Regions from separate parts of the Homo sapiens genome. Here all the other regions are linked to region 1. The links are contacts of gene promoters, found by promoter capture Hi-C in blood cells and fetal thymus (Javierre and others, 2016). All regions are on one chromosome and are shown on one strand. Each heading gives the region's core, a stretch centred on a gene start or on the middle of the fragment in contact. The rest is flanking DNA. Distances are from core to core; before and after follow the strand shown.

Region 1 (2,944 bases), core at 250-2,749:
CCTAGCTTAAAATTACTGTCCAGTGTTCCTTTTAGACATCACATATTTACTTAAGGTCACATAGTGATCCAAAGCTGTGGTCAAAATGTTGCACTTTTCAAATCCATCACAGGACAGTGTATGATAGGAGGAGTCAATAATTATGCCCTGTTGTGTTTCCTTTGACTGGAAGTTCATTAGCCAGCATGTCTGCATTGCTGGTAAGGTTCTTACTGATAGCACAAATGACATTAGGAGGAAATGTTGGTTCTAAATGTGCTGTGCTATAAGCTGAAACTGAATGTAAAAAAAAAAAAAAAAGGAACACGTGAATTTGCTATTCATTGGACACATATAGCGTTATTTTTACTGTTTTGAAGATGATAAAGTGATCCTCATATATTCCTAGTTATTTGTTTATAATCTCTCCACACAGCAGATTAAAAATATATGTTGGTCAAAAATAAACAGTTATATTAAAAAGGAAAAGGTAAATATATTTCAAAACGAAATATAATGGATATAATGAGAAAAAGAATTCTGACTTCAAAATGAAGCCAATATTGGGGGCAAAGTGGGTTGTGGTTAAGAAAATGGAGACATTTTAGCTGATATTAGTGTAAGATTTTTGCAATTGGTGGTGAAAAGTGAAACCATAAAAATGGGGTATAGCATAAAAGTTGGGGAAGCACTGAGTATATCAAAAAAATGATACCTTGGTCATTTTTGGTAATAAGGGGAGATTAGGACAATATTGTGGAGAGTTCATTTTAATTAGGAGACAAAGTGAAGCTCTTTATAAAAAGAGATATGACAAGAGTTGGGCTCTAGAAAATATTTTTAAAATTCCAGGGTAGAGAAATCTTGTTTTATTTCTCTCTTATTTTCTAGAGACATGTGCAGTACTCAGGAGTAGAGTACAAGTTTTTGGTCTGCTTAGTAAATGAGAAAAAAATTCAAGTTGGGCCCAAATGAGTTCATTCATAATTATCTTTAATATGTTAGTAATCTAGTAACTCACTTTAGGCTACATTTTACCATTTTTAGAAGCAAATTATGGTATGCAGTATAAATGCAAAAGTAATGCAAAGGAAATGATTACATCCATATCTACCTTGTCTTAAACCATGGTAGCATTTTTAAAACCATGCATATAGATTATAGCTCTAACAGACACTTCACCAAATCCTTACTAAATTATCTTTTGGATACCAGTTTTACGAATTAATCTATAGCCTGACTTTATTGAGGTGGGAGGTTTTCATTGGAAGCATTAATTTATATAATTAAGGATGTTTCATTGTCTAATGTTCTTGGTTAGGACTTTATAAGCGCCAACATGTGTCTATCACTGTATGAGTCTGTTCTCACACTGCTGTGAAGAAATCCCCAAGACTGAGTACTTTATAAAGAAAAAAGGTTTAATTGACTCACAGTTCCATGTGGCTGGGGAGGCCTCAGGAAACTTAAAATCATGGCGGAAAGCATCTCTTCGCCAGGCAGCAGGAGAGAGAATAAGTGTTGAGCGAAGGGGAAAGCCACTTAAAAACCATCAGACCTCGTGAGAAATTACTCACTATCACGAGAATAACATGGGGGAAACCGTACCATGGTTCAATTACCTCTGGATCTCTCCCACAACACGTGGGGATTATGGGAACTACAACTGAAGATGAGATTTGTGTGGGAACACAGCCAAACCATATCAATCATCATGCACCCAAATATGTATGGTTGTTTCCTTAGTTTTATTTGCTGCAAATAATTTGGTATTTTGGTCTTCTGGAAGCTTCTCTATTATTGTCTCTCCTCCCTAATTCATTCATATTCCCATTGAATTTGGGCCTCCTATGTGCACAATTATGAACCACAACCTGATACCACAACATTTGCTCCCTGATATTAATAAATATTTTTAATGTTCTAGTGAATAATTATTCCAAATCCAACTTTATGAACTCGGTTCTGATTCCAGAACTCTGTTCTGAGTTCTTGAGATTTGGATTTGGAATCACTATTCGTGAGAAGATTAATAATAATTTCTCATTTAGCAAATTCAAAATTTCAAACAATAAAAATTATTTTAAAGAGTGATTTTGTTAAATGTAGTTTTGACATGAAATGGTTAAAATTATAATGGATATAGATGTCAGTAACAAAAGCAAACTCTGACTTGAAAATCAGTTTATTTTGACTAATCTGTATGGATTCATTTAATGTATTAAATTATGTGCTGATTAATAGGATGGCATTAGTTCTACTATGTTAAACTCTTCAGACTAGACTTTTATATTTGATGCTTGCAGTTGTCTTTTCTTCATAATTTTACTTGTCAAAAAGTACTGCTTATTTTGGGGTCTACTTAGAAAAGTAGTACTGCTTCTGAAGAGCGTAACATTTACTTAGAATATCCCAGATATGCAGTATCAATAGAATGTTTCTTTTATTTATCATGTTATTCAACTGCACATTTTTCATTTAGCATGAAGTCTTTGGCTTAGGGCATAAAAAATAAAGAATAAGGCTACAAAAAGGGAAGCTAAATAATCACTTAAAATAATATTTTATTATCACTCTGCTTATGGAGGCCCTGATATTAGGTGAACTATCACTATGAAAAAGGGGGAGGACACAGGGTTACTGAAATGCATACAGGCTGTTGACTATTTGTGTAAGCTGATTATTTTTGAAGTTATCTTAGAGGATTATTTTAAATGTTGCATGCTTCAGTAGGTGCCTAGTAGGTCCTAATTATTTCCAAGATATTTTCCTTGATATTTTAAAAATAAATTTTAATAGATATTCAAAATGAGTTACTAGTTTTTGTGGCTCTTTATAAAGTAACTATAAAATGCAATCTCAGATATCAAAGGTTAGTGCACTCTGACAAAGCTTAAATTGTAATTTTAATTTGCCCTTTCTCTCTGAATCTATTTTTAGGAACTGGGACTTGTCATTACTGGAA
Region 2 (2,944 bases), core at 223-2,722, 490 kb after region 1:
AGTAACACTGGAGTTAGCACATCGTTTTTGTTTCATGTTTCCAGTTCTATCTTATCAAATAGAAACAAACTCCTTGAGCTTAACCGCTATGGCATACTCTAATGTTGATTATTAAAGTTCTAGTTAAAACTAAAACATTATATCACTGTAAATAATAGAAGTTGCCCAGGTTAAGTACTAATTTCAACAAGAATAAAAGCAAACTAGTTTATGTTAACAAAAATGTAAAGAATCATTTTATGTTAAATTAGTATTGTATAAATTTAAAAGTGATGGTGTTTGTAATCTTTATAATATATAGTAAGTATTCTTCACATTTGAAGATGGGTTTGTTCTTGAGAGATTTGGTGTCAAATATAGTTAAAAATAACATGAAATACAGTGAGATTCTTTAATAGAGTTGATTATTTTATGAACTGAAAAATTTACTAATTTTACCTGATTTGGGAAATTCAGAATTCCATTTTGTTTTTTATAGTTGGTAAATATATAGGTAGAGACCAAAATAAAAGCTTCATGAACTTGTCACCAACTTATATGTAATATAATTTATAGAATATTACATTCAAAGAGTTTTGCCAAAATTATCACCATTTAGTCTGTTAATCTATGAGAGCCAAAATTTTAAAACACTAAGGGTAATATATAAACCTGTTTGTCTGTCCATGAACCCCCAATAGGCATTGAATATTCATACAAATAACTGTCTATCATGTTAAAAGAAATATAAAAATTTCACACTTTCTCTAAACATTTCTGCAAGAGAATGCCTTATTTACAAGTACTCAGGCTCTTACTTTCCTCTTGCAGAGTGAGTTCTCAGCTTCATAATTTTATGACTACTACCCTCCTTCAGGTAATAGCAAACAGTATATAGTGTCCATTTTCGCTTGGCATGTTATTATTTAAAAATTGGCTCAACTCTACTAAGCGTTCATGTAAAATAATTCATTTAACTGAAATTTATATTAAGGAAATGGCTCTTAGCTGTCCAAATTGTCCAGAAGTTTATCTTATTTGTATTCTAATAATTGACACAAATTTTACACTTAAAAAATCTATCCTATCTCCAGAATGCAAGAAGAAAATAATAAGAAATAATATTAAAATTATAATTTCTATATTGAGATCATGTATTAAAAATAAAATATAGATAGCTTTGGTTTCTTTAATAAATATTTAAAAATGTATAATATATTAGCTAAGTATATAACAATACAGAAATTAAAATCTTTTTCTTATTAAAGATAATTCCAACTTAATTTATGTCTCTTTAATAGGGAACAGTTTTTAAAAATATCCCAGATAAATTGGCTGTTTGTTTTAGTTATTGAAATTTATTTAATAAATAAATGTAACAAAATTTTAGAGTATGAGCATTCCAGAAGTTTAATAATTCCAATTATTTAAAGGTTATAAATAGCTAAAAACTTTCTCTCTCTCTTGTAGATTTGTATCAAACAATTTTCCACAGACCAATAGTTCTAATATTTTAATTGGGAACATTTAGAAACGTGGATGTGCTATATTGTGTTGTAACTGGAGATTCAGTTAGAGAAATCATGGTCTTTTGCCAAGATTAATTCTGGCAAGCAACATTGGCATAATATATTAAAGCCCATGTCATAGAAACAGCACCTCAGAAATGGGAACTGAGGATTCAAGACTGGCAGAGTCTCCTAGTGCTTAATGTTAAGAACTAGCTTAAAGGGTAGTCATAATGATATTGGAGAAGGAATAATTCTTCCTTCCAACATGTTCTCAGAGTCCAAAAATATAGAGGAGATGGCAAAAAGATTGTTGAAAAATTACAGGTCTAGAAAATTAGGTCAAGAGATGAACTTGGAAGCCACCAATAAATAAAAGCCATAAATAATCATATAAATATTTTTGAAAGTCTTTTGACAATTTCTGGATAACGAATATTATTATACTCACTAAGGATATTGTCCTTCTACTTTATCCTTTTTAATAATGCTTACTCTCTTTAGGCTTGTTGATTCCTCATTAAAGATATGGATTCCCTTTTTTAAAAAATTTTACTTTAAGATCTGGGATACATGTGCAGAACATGCAGATTTGTTACATAGGTATACATGTGCCAGGGTGGTTTGCTGCACCTATCCACTCGTCATCTAGATTTTAAACCCTGCATGCATTAGGTATTTGTCTCAATGCTCTCGCTCCCCTAGCCCCCCCAACCCCCAACAGGCTCGGGCGTGTGATGTTGCCCTCCCTGTGTCCATGTGTTCTCATTGTTCAACTTCCACTTATGAGTGAGAATGTGCGGTGTTTGGTTTTCTGTTCCTATGTTAGTTTGCTGAGAATGATGCTTCCAGCTTCAACCATGTTCCTGCAAAGGACATGAACTCATTCTTCTTTATGGCTGCATAGTATTGATATGGATTCAGTTTTAAAGGTAACAAGCTTCATAAGAAAATCCATGGATAATTTCAATTCAATTAACTAACTCATGCTCTTCCCATTTAATAATTCTTGTTCTTATAACCATAAAGTGCTTGTTCTTAAACAATTCTCATTGCTTCTTTATAAATTGACACTATGCTTACAGTGATGATACTACGCTAGAACCCCCATAATCAAGCCATTAGAGGTCATAAGTGCTATTCTATGACTTTTTAGTGTGAGACAATTGAAATTTAAATAATATATTGTCTTATAATATATTGTTCATGGAAGACCTGCTGCATATTCCAATCAGTAGTATTAGTAGTTCAGTATATCTGCTTTATTTCACAAATGAATACTTCAGGAGAGAGGAAAAGGTGAAGGAATGAGTAAGTCCAGTGGGCAAATGAGTGGTAAAATGAATTTTCTGTGAAGAGACACATCATGCAAAGTTGTAGAGGTGAGGAACCCTGCCAATGTCCAGTTTTGAGGATTTAAAACAGCTTGATTATTCTGTAATCATAGGATCTCAGCC
Region 3 (2,944 bases), core at 156-2,655, 460 kb after region 1:
TTACACGATTTACAATTTATTTCCATTTTCACCTAGAAGGTAAATATTCCAAAGAATTTCCTGGCACAAAACACCTGGAAATGTATGATAGAATATAACTAGCCTTTAATGTGGAAATGTGACCTCAAAAAAAATTAGGGGATATTTCAGGGGCCAAAAACAGAGGCTCCTCAATGATGCCAAGTGCCCTGAGAGCATCTTCTCTGTAAAGAAGAGGTTTAGGTTTCACAGCCACTTGGAAACAGGAAGTAAAACTTTGGGAGCAATAAGGGCAGGCAGTTGGAACCTCATAAAATAAGAGGTCCTTCAGGATGAAAACTTGGAAAGGACACCTTCACACGCTAGCCTGGAGTAGACAATAAGAAAGTTTGCCCATCTAGGCCTAGGCTCTGAATTAAGGGGAAAACGCGTCCTCCAAAATGTAAAGGAAATATATTGGGTTTGAATTATGCACACTGCAAATTATTGGAAAACCCAGACAAGACGTTAAAAGGAAAGGGGTCTTGGTGTTTTATTGTGAGGAATTCCTGGCAGAAACAAAAGCAAAGCTTCCCTAGAGAGGCCTAACATCCACCTAAGCAGCAGAAAATTCCTGAAGAAAAAAATTTGGCAGAAAATGGGCTCAGAATCTAAAATTACGAACTCTTAGAAAACAGCCATAACTTACAGACCAATGCACAGCTATTTCACACCCATTTCACTGGCTGTAACCCGAAATGACTGGGGAGAAGTGGCTTTGAACCTGGGTACAATGCACAGGCTAGTGTACTTTTGTAAGTTGACTTCGTGAACAGGTATTGTTTACTTCCTCCTGTTGTGAGATTTATTTCTGACTTCAGTACAGATGATAATATGACAGTGTTGTGGCTTTATTTTATATTAGTGAGCTGCTAATTGTTATTGAGATGCTAATTATTAACATATGTTATGGTGTTTACTTCACAATAAATCTGCACAGAAGCTCTAGGTAGTATTGGCATATTTGAGTATACCTTTTGTAAAAGAAATATGAAAAAATAACTTTTTATAGATCATTTTTGCAATGACAATGATTAGAAATTAGTGACTACAATGTTTACATTGTACCTAGTTTCAAATCACCAAGGCATTCTGAATATTTCAACAAAGTGCTCATTAGTGAAAATTAAATGTGGTCCTGATATTTACAAGGGCACTATTTATTGTAATAAAATAAGCTGTAGGTCATTTAGTATTGTGTCGGTTGAGAACTTGTTACTAGAAGCATCCAACCAAGTTGCATTGTTACAAGACAAGGAGCCTCACGTTATTTGTAAAAAGTGAGAAAAACAATTTATTGGAAAATTGAAAAATAGTTCTGAGACCAGATGAGCTGAAGAAGTTTCAACAGATTTTCTTATCAAATCATAATTTGTGAGTTGAGTCCTGATACCTGAAACAAGTTTTTACAAAGTTATAAAAACTTGTCCTTTTAAATGGGTGTGACCTTGGTGGCTTCTCTTGGCTATCAGTGTTGTACCTTATGTAAATTAGGAAAAGCACATAGAAGGAGGCCTTTCTTGTGAAACAAAGAAAATAACTGCAAGGAAATGTACATTTATCTAATCAAAGACAAAATTTTTGTATCTGTAACACACAAGGTAAGTAAATCAATATTCACCGATAATGCTCCTGCCTAGATCTGAAGAAAAATTAAGAATATCTTTACTGATATATAAAAAAGTAGCATAATCATATATTGTCTATTACCCCATCATGTACTTGCTGACAAGAATTTGGATTAAAAAAAATGGAAGGCTCTTTTGTCTCCTGCAAAGAGCATGATAAATTTTCTTAGAGCATATTTTCTAAATAATCACTGTCACTTCAGTGATTCTTTTAAAGAAACTGTTACCAAACACATGCCCTTTATTTGTAAACACTAAAAGGAGTATAGTGCTTTAAACTGGACATGTAAAAATATAAGCTATTTCTTTTACCTCTAAAAATACTAATAGAGTCAATGATATAAATTAATGTTTGTCTTTCTTTGAATGTGTTTATGAATAGTCAAATTCTTAAAACTGACTGCTGTTTTAAGGAACTAGTCTGAAAGTACATGGCAACAACCCCATTAAATTTATCTAGTTTTATAAGAAAATTGCCTCTTTGGAAAAGAAATTTTAAGAATTTTGCTTTCTAACAGAGAGATGTTAGAAAATTCAGAAATGACCATCTGAAGCATGAAGGCATTACCAAGAGCTGAATGTCTGTCTGTGGCTATTTTTCTCTTGGAAAGCTTTTCATGCCAAAAAAATAAAAATAAATGGATACTGAATCTATTCATCTTTAACCTGGATGCCTACTAACCGCTAGAGCCATTAACTATATGCACATGTATTTAGTGACAATGATGTTGCCAAATTTCTTTTATACCACTGCATGATGTTTAGAGCAGAGATTCTTCAGCCAGAATGCTTGGCTAAGAATCCCAGGTTCACCACTTAAGGTTTTTTGTGAAGCTGGGCAAGTTATTGAACCTTTCTTAACTTGATTCCTCATTGTAAAATGGTGATAATAGTAGTGCCTACCCCTGAAGGTAGACATGAGGTTTTTAAAAGCAAATATTTGTAAAGTACTGAGTGGCTCATAGTAATAAGCACTATACAAGTGTTCCATAAATGAATAAACTAGAAACATTTCCATAGCTGGAGAAGAAAGTGATGAAAATTGTTGTTCTTTTGCTTGTACATAGTTAAGATTGGATTTTCGTCATTGCCTCATCAAAACAAAAACTAGAAACCACTTAAGTGTGACTGATAAACACTTCAAAAATATTCTAATTTTTTGCAGATTATGGAATAAAAGCCTCAGCATAAAAATCACTAAGCTTGGATATTTTTAAAAAGCATAATGTTTCGTAACTTGTTTATGTTAATATAAAACTGAAACTGTAAATCAATTTCTTGCATGCACTAAATATGGC

The links. Contacts are between HindIII fragments. The CHiCAGO score rates a contact against its expected background, and 5 or more counts as called.
Region 2: a fragment that was not itself captured here is called in contact with the fragment with the promoter of CACNA2D1-AS1 in region 1 in 4 of 17 cell types (M2 macrophages, M1 macrophages, megakaryocytes and 1 more); the score reaches 7.4 in M2 macrophages.
Region 3: a fragment that was not itself captured here is called in contact with the fragment with the promoter of CACNA2D1-AS1 in region 1 in 2 of 17 cell types (erythroblasts and M2 macrophages); the score reaches 5.3 in erythroblasts.

The regions. Positions count from the first base shown.
Region 1 is chr7:82,007,732-82,010,675 of GRCh38, reverse strand. It overlaps CACNA2D1-AS1 (CACNA2D1 antisense RNA 1), which reads right to left and starts at 1,499. Exons shown (of 4, transcript NR_110077.1): 1 at 1,414-1,499. CACNA2D1 (calcium voltage-gated channel auxiliary subunit alpha2delta 1) reads left to right here. Exons shown (of 39, transcript NM_000722.4): 16 at 2,920-2,944. The HindIII fragment of the contact is 1,784 bases long and covers 1-1,770 here.
Region 2 is chr7:81,518,746-81,521,689 of GRCh38, reverse strand. All of the region lies in intron 4 of LOC105369146 (a long non-coding RNA gene), which reads left to right. Among named protein-coding and RNA genes, the nearest start is that of HGF, 250 kb to the left of the region's middle. The HindIII fragment of the contact is 1,915 bases long and covers 515-2,429 here.
Region 3 is chr7:81,545,587-81,548,530 of GRCh38, reverse strand. All of the region lies in intron 3 of LOC105369146 (a long non-coding RNA gene), which reads left to right. Among named protein-coding and RNA genes, the nearest start is that of HGF, 220 kb to the left of the region's middle. The HindIII fragment of the contact is 1,709 bases long and covers 551-2,259 here.